Regions from separate parts of the Homo sapiens genome. Here region 1 is linked to region 2. The links are contacts of gene promoters, found by promoter capture Hi-C in blood cells and fetal thymus (Javierre and others, 2016). All regions are on one chromosome and are shown on one strand. The core of a region is centred on a gene start or on the middle of the fragment in contact, and the rest is flanking DNA. Distances in the headings are between cores, read along the strand shown. Region 1 overlaps ULK4 (unc-51 like kinase 4). Region 2 holds the start of ENTPD3 (ectonucleoside triphosphate diphosphohydrolase 3).

What was found. Contacts are between HindIII fragments. The CHiCAGO score rates a contact against its expected background, and 5 or more counts as called.
Region 1: a contact is called between a fragment that was not itself captured here and the fragment with the promoter of ENTPD3 in region 2, in 2 of 17 cell types (naive CD4 T cells and total CD8 T cells). The highest score is 5.8, in naive CD4 T cells.

Annotation. Positions count from the first base shown.
Region 1 is chr3:41,886,473-41,892,526 of GRCh38, forward strand. The region is part of intron 16 of ULK4 (unc-51 like kinase 4); the gene reads right to left. Among named protein-coding and RNA genes, the nearest start is that of ULK4, 73 kb to the right of the region's middle. The HindIII fragment of the contact is 153 bases long and covers 2,968-3,120 here.
Region 2 is chr3:40,384,847-40,390,681 of GRCh38, forward strand. It overlaps ENTPD3 (ectonucleoside triphosphate diphosphohydrolase 3), which reads left to right and starts at 2,338. Exons shown (of 11, transcript NM_001248.4): 1 at 2,338-2,415; 2 at 3,200-3,251. The coding sequence starts at 3,212. RefSeq lists a silencer at 2,259-2,358. The HindIII fragment of the contact is 3,169 bases long and covers 616-3,784 here.

The DNA.
Region 1 (6,054 bases), core at 1,794-4,293, 1.5 Mb after region 2:
GGATTTCCAATGTAAATCTCAGTAGAATTAGGCTAAACTCATGAGAAAAAGATTCCCTTTAAACTAAAAACCATATGACGTACAGAAGATATAAAATGTGAATTTTTTTTTTTTTTTGAGATGGAGTCTTGCTCTGTCACCCAGGCTGGAGTGTAGTGAGTGGCACAATCTCAGCTCACTGCACCCTCCGCCTCCTGGGTTCAAGCCATTCTCCTGCCTCAGCCTCCCCAGTAGCTGGGATTACAGGCACGCACCACCATGCCCAGCTCATTTTTGTATTTTTAGTAGAGACAGGGTTTCACCATGTTGGCCAGGCTGGTCTCGAACTCCTGAACTCGTGATCCACCCACCTCGGCCTCCCAAAGTGCTGAGATACAAGTGTGAGCCACCGCGCCCAGCCTGGTGTGAATCTTTATACACCAAATAACAAAGCATGAAAAGTAAACCCATAGTAGTGGTAAACTTCAATTTTCTTCTCTTCCAAGCACAGAGAGAAGGCAACAATGAATACATTCATCAATACATTCACACATTCAAGCATCCTAAATAAAACTACAAAGTCAAAGTAACAGATGAATCTATCGAACTCTACACCCTACAAACAGTGACCACTCTTACTCAGTGGGAGTCTGTATAGGATGGTGTCTAAGACTCTGAATTCAAAGTCTTGGACCTGGCCCTGGCCCCACCACTGGGGGCGAGGGAGACAGTACCCTGGGATAATCACTCATCTTTCTTATGCCTGGTAGGCACAACAAGTAGGACCAATAATAATATGTACCTCATGTTGTTCTAAGAATCAGGAGATAATCCACATGCAGAAATTACCATTGTGTCATGACAATTTGTGCTGAATGAGCAAGCCACTATTACTATATTAACAGTTAACTGCATTCATGGCATACATTAAAAATGACTTTATATTGGACCACAAAGATATTGGAATTATTAGAATTCCCTAAGGCAGAAATTATACAGGACTCATTTTGATGTAGTGAAAGGAGAAAAGTAAAAATAACAAATATAAACCAAAAAGCCTAAACACTTGTGAAATTAGAAGCACTTCTGCTGGGCATGGTGGCTCATGCCTGTAATCCCAGCATTTGGGAGGCCGAGGCAGGTGAATCACTTGAGGTCAGAAGTTCAAGGCCAGCCTGGCCAACATGGTGAAACCCCATCTCTACTAAAATATACAAAAATTAGCTGGGCGTGGTGGTGGGCGCCTGCAATCCCAGCTACTCGGGAGGCTGAGGTAGGAGAATCGCTTGAACCCAGGAGGTGGAGGTTGCAGTGAGCCAAGATCATGCCACTACTGCACTCCCGCCTGGGTGACAGAGTAAGACTCCGTCTCAAAAAAAAAAAAGCACTTCTATATACCTTATACATCATATTAAAAAATGAAAACTTTGGCCAGGTAAAGTGACTCACATCTGTAATCCCCAGCACTTTAGGAGGATGAGATGGAAGGATCACTAAGGCCAGGAGTTCAAGACCAGCCTGGCTAATAAAGTGAGACCCTGTCTCCACAAAAAGAAAAAAAAAAATGTTTTTAATTTAGCCAGGCATGGTAACATGCACCTGTAGTCCCATTCCAGCCTCGGGGACACAGTGAGACCCTATTTTTTTTAGAGTGAGTCTCTAAAAATAATAATAAAATAAATAAATAAGGAAAAGAAACAAAAGAAAGAATAAAAGGGAAAGGTAAAGAAAGCATCCATAAATCATAATCATGTAACACAGATCTAAACTTATGAGACATTCTCTGTCTTTAATGATTGCAGACTAAACACTTGACACTCACTTTTCTGATCCCTCTAGAGTCTCTAAAATACAAGTTCTTTTTATTAAATGATAACTGATAACTAGAAACAAAAAGGAAGGCTAAAAGTGGACTAGAAAGTTTGAGAAAATCTCAGATGACATGCATAGATAGAATTAAGACTGACAGAGAACCAACAAGGGAATCCTCTATCTAAGAATCACAGGTAGACAGACGTTCCCAAGGAAGCCTCAAGGACTTGGAACAAACTAAGACAGAAAGCAAGAATGAGCCACAGGACAATCATCAGATTACAACTGCACAAGGAACAATTGTGTCCTTGTACAAGGAACAGTTTAGTCAGTCAGGTCCTGCCTCTTTTCCATCACCCTTCCTTGGTACACAGAATAAACCCTGCAGCCCTGGCCTCCGGGGTAAACGTGGAAAATTGTTCCTACAGTGAGCAATCCACCTTGGGGTGGGACATAGGTGTGGATGTGGGAAGCAGAGACTGTGGTCCTCCAGATACTGAAACAGGGAAGGGGTAAATGAGGAAAGCCAACTCCACTCCAAAGAAAAACCCACCCTGGCAATTGCAGAGGCCTCCAGCCTGCCTACCTGATCTTCAGCCAGCTGGAATTCCAAATTAAAGTCAACCAGTCAGCAGGCCCCACCTACCCACATACCAACCCTTTATTTAAAGGAGAGGCTATTGGAGAAAGAGACTTAGGCAAGCATAAAGGAAACTCACATTGCCAACTTCTATACCAATCAATTTAATCATTTATTCATAATATAAACTAAGAACCAGAGATCACCAGGCATTTGAGAAATAAACAGCATTAAAAAGCAGGACCATGATGAAAAAGTGACCTACAAGTTCAAGAGGTAAGAATACAATGTTTATAATCCTAATTTTGTTCCCTTTTTTTCAAAGTCCAGGTTCCAGGCTTATATTATATAATCCTAATGTTTAACCTTTAATATTAATAACAATATTTAATTCTAAATTCTGCCCCAAGAAGAGAATTTTTATAATCCTAATATTTATCTCAAATTCAGAAGTATATGATACACCAAATATATGCAGCTAGGAAAAGGGACCAATCAGACAAAAAGAAAATGAACAAAACCTTTCAAATATGATTGTTGAAATTAAAAAATTAACTGGAAATCCTAAATAATAAAATGAGTGGGGATAAATACCAAGCTTGAGAGCTCAAAGATAAAGTCAAGGAAGAGCAATAAAAGAAGAGAATTTGCATGGACACAAAGAGGGAACAACAGACACCGGGGCCTATTTCAGGGTGGAGGGTGGGAGGAGGGAGAGGATCAGAAACAATAACAATTGGTACTTACTAAGCTTAGTACCTGGGTGACCAAATAATCTGTACAAGAAACCCCCATGAGTTTACCTATATAACAAATCTGTATTATGTACCCCTGAACCTAAAACAAAAGTATAAGAAAGAGAGTTTGGCAGTTCTTCAAAAGGTTGAACACAGAGTTATCATTTTATCCAGCAATCTCACTACTGTAAGAGAAATAAAAACGTATGTTCACACAAAACCTTGTAGACAAATGTTCAGCGCACCATTATTCATAATAGCCAAATGTGGAAACAACCCCAAATGTCCATCAAGACCACATAAGCAAAATGTGGTATAGCCACACAAGGATTATTCAGCTATAAAAAGAATGAAGTATTCACACATTCCACAATACAGATGAACCTTGAAAACATTATGCTAAATGACAGAAGCTAGACACAAAAGGCCACATACTGTATGATTCCATTTATATGAAATATCAAAAATAGGCAAATCAGCCAACAGGAAGTAGATGAGTGGTTGCCAGGGGTTGGAGAAGAATGGGTACTGGGTTTCGCTGGGTGAGAAAAATGTTCTGAAATTAGATAATGGCAATGGTTGAACAACTTTCAATATACTAACACCTACTGAACTGTACACATTAAAATGGTGAATTTTATGGTATGTGAATTATACCTCAATAAACAAGAGAAAGTGAGAAAGCAAAAGAAAATTTAAAAGAAAAGTCAAGAGAGACAAACTCCCACACCCATCCTGTAGGGGTTTCAGGAACAGAAAAAGGATGAAATAGGAAGAAATCTAAGAAATAATATAAAAGCTAAAGGAGGGATGAAGAGGCTAGGCATCGTGGCTCACACCTGTAATCCCGGCACTTTGGGAGGCCAAGGCAGGTGGATCACTTGAGGTCAGGAGTTTGAGACCAGCCTGGCCAACATGGTGAAAACCCATCTCTACTAAAAATACAAAAATTAGCTGGGCATGGTGGTGCACACCTGTAATCCCAGCTACTCGGGAGGCTGAGGCAGGAGAATCCTTGAACCCGGGAGGTGGAGGTTGCAGTGAGCCAAGATCGCGCCACTGCACTCCAGCCTGGGCGACAGAGCAAGACTCTGTCTCAAAATAAACAGAAAGAAAAGAAGGGAAGGAAGGGACAGGAGGGACGGGAGGGAAGGAAGGGACAGGAGGGACGGGAGGGACGGGAGGGACGGGAGGGACAGGAGGGACAGGAGGGACGGGATGGGGGAAGGAAGGGATGGGAGGGGGGAAGGAAGGGACGGAAGGGGGGAAGGAAGGGATGCGGGGAAGAAAGGGACAGAAGGGGGAAGGAAGGGACGGGAGGGGGAAAGAAGGGACGGGAGGGGGAAAGAAGGGACGGGAGCGGGGAAAGAAGGGACGGGAGGGGGAAAGAAGGGACGGGAGGGGGAAAGAAGGGACGGGAGGGGGAAAGAAGGGACGGGAGGGGGAAAGAAGGGACGGGAGGGGGAAAGAAGGGACGGGAGGGGGGAAGGAAGGGACGGGAGGGGGAAAGAAGGGACGGGAGGGGGGAAGGAAGGGACGGGAGCGGGGAAGGAAGGGACGGGAGCGGGGAAGGAAGGGACGGGAGGGGGAAGGAAGGGACAGGAGGGGGAAAGAAGGGATGGGAGCGGGGAAAGAAGGGACGGGAGGGGGAAGGAAGGGACGGGAGCGGGGAAGGAAGGGACGGGAGCGGGGAAGGAAGGGACGGGAGCGGGGAAGGAAGGGACGGGAGCGGGGAAGGAAGGGACGGGACAAGACGGGACTGGAGGGAGGGAGGGAGGGAGGGAGGCAGGCAGGCAGGCAGGAAGGAGCAAATTAGTAAAAAGAGATTCCTAGAGACAATCTAGTAAAATTTACAGGCCTGAAATGAAAAGAAAAGCTAACTCAAACAAGTCACACAGAAGAGGGAAAAAAAAAAAAAAGGTAAGGTTTACCCACAAGTCCTACAGAACTACAGTTAGTACAAGGAAGAGAGCTCAAACTCCAAAGCATGGCACAGAGGTAAGCCACTGAGAGGCCTTCTTGAAAACAAACAAAAAATACTAACAGCCAGGCGCGGTGGCTCATGCCTATAATCCCAGCACTTTGGGAGGCCAGAGCAGGTGGATCACCTGAGATCAGGAGTTGGAGACCATCTGGCCAACACGGTAAAACCTCATCTCTACAAAAATACAAAAATTAGCCGGGCATGATGGCAGGTGCCTATAATCCCAGCTACTCGGGAGGCTGAAGCAGAAGAATCACTTGAACCCGGGAGGCAGAGGTTGCAGTGAGCTGAGATTGTGCCACTGCACTCCAGCCTGAGTGACTGAGCGAGACTCCGTCTCAAACAAACAAAAAAAAACCTACCAAATGATAAAATCTAATCAACCAAGAGAAGAACTACAGCAAAGAAACAGGAAAACTATGTTTTTAATTAAAAAATTTATGATGGATGAGCATTTACTTTACCTTATTCAAGTATAAAACTCTTATTTGAAAAATAGAAAAATTCCTCCTAAATTCATATCTCAAAAAGGCACTTGCCACAGTAAAAAGCAACCTATGTAATGAGAGAAGATATTTGCAATCATTTATCTGACAAGGGGTTAATATCTAGAATATATAAAAAATACCTACAACTCAACAACATAAAACTCAGTTCAAAAATTGGCAAATGACTTGACTAGATCTTTCTCCAAAGAAGATATACAAATAGCCAACAATCACACGAAAAGATGTTCAACATCACTAGTCACAAAATACAAATCAAAACTGTAAGATACTACTTCACACCCATCAGGATAGCTGTTAGCAAAAAACAAAAACAGAAAACACTAATGTTCACAGCAGCATTGTTCACAATAGCCAAAAGATATAAACAAGCCAGTGCCCAACAACAGATGAAAAGATAAACAAAATGTAGTATATGCATACAACGGAATATTATTCAGCCTTAAAAAGGAATGA
Region 2 (5,835 bases), core at 1,088-3,587:
TTGGTGGGGGGGGGTTGCAGTGGGTGGTGTCTTTCTATTCAGTCATTTTTCATTTTCATGGATTCAAATTTGTTGACTTTATTTCTCTTCCTGCTTTGACTGCATAGTAGAAGAGACTGTTCTTTCCCAAGGATGATAAAAATGTTCTTCTACATTTTTTAGTATGTCAAATTATTTTATACATTTAAATTTTTAAACCACCTAAAATCTATTTTTGTGGGTGATGAGTAATTAGAATCCTTTTCCAAATGAGCCAGTTGTTTCAATACCAGTTATTGAATAATATGTTATTTCAACCTGTTCTTTATCTTATAATCCTATATCCAATAGTCTGTTGTGGCCTATCTTTTTTGTTCTTTAGATCTCTCAGTATATTCCTGTGCCCAAGCCAGGCTGTTTTTATTACTGTGGCTTTACAATATGTTTTGATAGCTGGTGGGCAAATCTGTATTATTTTATAATCAGGAAAACTCACAAAGGAGTGTGTGTGTGTGTCTGTGTGTGTGTGTGTTCTTGCATGTGGAAGGTGGATGAGGAAATGCCTTTGAATGACTAGGTCTACTTTGGAAGCTGCAAAGGAGTTTGACACAGTGCCTGGAGCAGAGTTTCCAGAAAAGCTTGGAAAAATAAAAGGAGAATTGGAGACTACAGGGCTCTCAAAGGAGGCTGATGCTCACACTTACAAGGTCTGTAGGTTGATGCAAGCAGAGAGGAAAGCTGGCATGGACTGATCTCTGTTATTTTTATACACTAGCACTAACTGCCTTTCAAGGCCCATTAGGCCTGGAAACCTTTTCCCAGCCCCTGGGAAGTCACTGGGGATGCTAAGGTTAGTCATTCACCCACTGGGGCTATCTAACTGAGCTCAGGTCCGGGTGCACTGCCAGCAGCTGTTTGTGTACTTACAGCCCCCTGGGTGCAGACGGACCCCCAGCTGCCAGCCATATGCCTTATGTTTCATTGTCCCACAGCTTTCAAAGAAAACAAGTCTTTTAATTCAGCAAGTATTCACTGAATGTCTGACACCCCCAGTGCAGACCCTGTCCCAATCCCCCAATGGGGTCCACCTCTATCCAACTCTGGGTGAATGACCATGGTGCTCTTGCGCGCGGGCACACACACACACACACACACACACACACACACACACACACAGGCACACACACATAACTCAGGCTTGGGGCCCACCTCTCTGGGCTCAGAGGTATCAAAGCAGGGGCATTCCTATCTTAAGGACTTCTTGTCTTAGGGGCTTTGGCCCCACCTGCACAGGACAGAAAATTAGTGGATTTCTAGGAGAAAGCAGGCTATGGCAGGGTATAGCCAGGGACTCAGCTCTTCCTTCCAGACATGCAGGAACCATAAGGAGGGATGGTCAAACAGGGCCTGCTTAGGCCTCTTGCTGGGATCACTCCAAGGGTCTCTGGGGTCACTCAGAGGAGCCGGGAGGCTGCCTGCTGCTGTACACTGAGACAGACTCCTGGGGTGTTTGGATCACGGCAGCCCACATGCTGCCTTTTTGTTATCTTTTCTGTTTTGCCTCTTCCGGGCTGTACTTGTCTTGAGTTTTTGGCCTTATGACATCCATATTAAATGGGGTAGGGCAGAGCATTGCTCAGTAAACAGCAAGAATGGCCCTGGGCATGGCCAAGGCAGTTCTGCTAAGTGTGAAAGGGAATGTGCCTGCCATACTTTGTGCTTTAGGCCCAAGTGACCTAGGGGCCAGCCTGCCTACTGGCCTCACTCCCAACATTACAGGTGTTTGACTCTACTCCACCCCGTGGAGAGACGGAGCACAGGAGCCACCCACCGGGGGACCACATAAGGTCATGCACACCCACAGAGTGCCCAGTCCCTGCCTGGCCTTGTCCCCATTTTCCCTCCACCTAGGGTTGGGGTGACAATGGAGGTAACTAGAAGACAGATCAAAAGGTTCTTGGTCTTGACACAGATGCAAGAAGGAGGCAGATAATAGACACCTCCCTTCCCCCTCGCCCACATAGGCTCCGGTGGGTTCTCAGGGCAAGGCCTGGCTCCCTCCTCTCCGACTTCAGGTACAGGTGAGTGTGGAGGGAACTGAAAGAGGAAAGGTGAAGTGCTGTTTGGCTTCGACCTGGAGGGGGACAGAAGGCTCTCTGGGCAGGCAGGGCCGGTCTTTTGGCAAGAGGCGCGCTCTCTCTCCCTTCCCCTTCCATCGAGGGCTGGGTGTGAAGGTGAGAGCAATCAGAAAAGAAGGTGAAGAGGTACTTGGCCTTGACACGGACGGGGGGGGCGGTCCCAGGCCGAGGCCGCCCCGCCCCCGCCCCGCTATACCCGGCGCCGCCTCCCGGCGTCTGAGCTGACACCTCCTTAGCGCTGGCCGCGGGCCGCCTCTGCGGCAGCGCTAGTCGCCTTCTCCGAATCGGCTCCGCACAGGTAAGATCAGGGGACCCGGCGCCTGAGCTGCCGAGGAAGGAGTCGGGGGTGCTGCGTGAGACTGAGAGTTGGGAGGCAAAGAAACAAAATCGGATTTCCTCAGAGGGCCAGAGGAAGAGACTGAAACACGGTAGCCCCAAATCCTTGGGCGGCTGGGAGGTGGTCCCTGTCATGCCCACGACGGGTGGGCGCGTCTTTACCGACAGCCTGCATGGATCCGCAGATGTGCTGGGCGCTTAGATGCCTGCGGCTATGCAGAGACGCAGTCCAGAGAGGTGACCCCAGATCCTGGTGGGGGCTGGATCCCAGGGCCCCGACATCCCTTTGCAATTTCCAGCCAGCAGCTAAAGACTCCCTTCCCGGGGCTTTAGAGAGGCTCCAGGCTCGCGATCCATGAACACACAAAAACCTTCCTTGCTCATGTTCTGAAAAAAAGCCCCGCCTCAGCTTTGTGAATGTTAATAATAGGGGGAAGATTTGTTCTCTCTTGGGTGTGTGTACAGGTGGAACAATCTGCAGAAAAAGACCTTTTTTCGGAAAACCTTTTCAGTTTGAAGTTTCAGCAAATCCATTTTTCATTTCCTTTCATTTGGGGAGATGACATGAAATTTAAGCTCCAGCTTTGGGGCTGTCTCTGAAGTTCTGGGGTTCGGCTTACCTTTCCCGGGATGAGGTTTTGATTTGGAGGAAGTAAAATGGGTTTTGTCTTAACCTGGGCTCGTTCTTTAAACTTGTGAGGCCGGGGCGGTGGACTTACTGACATCCTGTATTCTCTCACCTGCAGCTAGGAGAAAAGATGTTCACTGTGCTGACCCGCCAACCATGTGAGCAAGCAGGTTAGTATCTCTCAGCAGGTAGCAAGCGTGGTTTTGCCAAATCGCAAGAGAACCCCAGCTTCGGCCTACAGTTTTTCATCCATATCCCCTGCAAATGATTGTTTAACTTTATTGGTTTGAGACTCAGTACTCAGCTGGGTTTCAACACCGGCATTCCTCAAATAAAAGTAATGCTTTTCATCAAAGCCACACAAAACAAGGACTAACATGCATGTTTCACTTAAATGGTTTTTCCGGTTTGTATAATCCATTAATTTGGCCCTTGTGGTTTCCCTTAGCTAGCTGTGTGTAACGTTTGCTTTAGAATACTGTATTGTTGATTTTGTGATCAATTGTACAGTACTTGGATCTTTCCTGTATTCCCATCCAAATGTTGCTGGCACAGTGCCTACAACACCCCCACCCCTCACTGTGAGTCAGTGTTGTTATGGTTGATACTGCAGGCACAAGTGCAGGATTTTCTCACACTGGAAGGCACACACACACAGACACACACACACACACACACACACACACACACACACACACTTCTAAGCTTGCCCCGCCTGCCTCTAGAGCACTTTTTGGAGTTGCTCATGTGGAAGCCCAGAAGGCTCTGGCTTCTCCAAGCTCAGGTAGGTACCTTGCAATTACCATGTTTGTCCAGCCCTAATGACAGCACAGCTCTAGGCTGCATTTCCTAAATGAGTAAGACCTGGTCTCATCCATTTTGCTTTGTAATAAGCTTTTCTGCAAGGACAAGAGTTTGCTTAAGGTAATCATAGCTTTTTACTTGAAAACTGCTGAAACACAGAAGACTTAGGAGGCCAGCCACGTAGCTGTGGTCAGGAAACTGCATACATATCACACACTCCTCCCCCATGGATAGACATTCTTTAGTCATGCCCCTAAATTGGGTATTCTTGTCTTCCAAAAGGATATGATTTTAGGATAGTAAGGGCAATCTATATGAACTTTTATTTTTGTAAAGGGACATTGCACTTGAGGAGCTGTTTTCCTTTGATCTTTAGGTTTTCCCCCAAAACACTTTGAAATGTTAACACAGATTGTAACGTCACTCATACAGACTAACCTGTTACATTCCTTCCAAAGGACAAGTTTAACTTGGCAGATTAAATTTCTACCCCATTTTGTTAGAGGGAAAAAATCCCTTAAACTTCTATAACTAACACTGACAAATGCATTCTTTGAAAGCTAATGCAAAAGTTTGCCTCTGTGGATTAACTGGTTCCTGTACTTTTATTTGGAATCACAGAAAAGTGATACAGGACCTCTTTACATGCTCTGCAGGTCAACTCCATGGCAGTTGGCTCTCCTTTCCATTGCTATTACCCACAATTCTGTAATGAGTAACCTTGTGTCTAAGTCATTTTACACATGTGGAGCTAGTTCTGTGGGATAACTTCCCAAAAGAGTGATTGTGAGTCAGATGGCATGCTTATTTGCAGTTTTCATAAATATTGACAAGTTGCCCTCCATTGATGCTGTACCAGTTTACACTTTCAATGACAAGGTAGGAGGATTAAGGTGTTAAGTGACCAACTTTGACACCAAGAAGTGTCTGTGACTGCAGCTACACTGCAGGGGAATCAGTTGAGATGGAAAGAGTTAGCTGTTCTGAGCCATGAAGACCTACTGCGTGACTGCCCTCCTGTAGCAAATGTTGTGATGTGACTGAATTTGGGGGCTGAATCTAATTATATCGTGGGCGCATAGACATGCCCTGTTATTCTTCTGGGAAAATGGCTTACAGAAATAATGGAGGGGTAAAGCATAGGTTATAATGATCTAGGAATAATGTTCTGGAATAAGACAGGATCTATCCAATTGCTGTTCAATTGATCTTCCTATAATGATGAAAATGTTATATGGCTGCACTGTCCAATATAGTAGCCACTAGCCCACATGTGGTTATTGAACACTGGAAATGTGGCTAGTAAGATTGAGAGACTGCATTTTTTTATTTTAATTAATTTACATTTAGATAGCCAATTGATTAGATATATATTGGAATTCGATGAATCTAGTGATCTTTCTATTAGTGTTCATCATATTTCAACCATTTGGTTGTCATTTATGTTGATGTCCCAATAGTTTTACCAAGACTATTATTATTATTTTTTTAGAGACAAGGTCTCACTCTGTCACCAGGCTGGAGTATAGCGGCACAGCTCACTGCAGCCTTGAGCTCCTGGGATCAAAGGATCCTCCAACTTCAACCTCCTGAGTAGCTTGGGCTACAGGTGTGCACCACATGTACAGTTGATTTTTTTCATTTTTTGTAGAGACGGGGTCTCACTATGTGGCTCAGGCTGGCATCTAACGCCTGGCCTCAAGCATCTTCCCATCTCAGCCTCCCAAAGCTGGGATTACAGGCATAAGCCACTATACCCAGCCCAAGATTATTATTTAGTCAGTATTTTCATTGAATGTCTTTTTATCTTTTTAAAAAATTAGGTATAACTTCTATTCAGTGAAATGGATAGATCTTAAGTCGTGCCCCTAAGTTGGGTGTTCTTGCCTTCTAAAAGTATGTTTTTAGAATAGTAAGGGCAATTTATAAGTTTATAATGTTTTTTTAAAA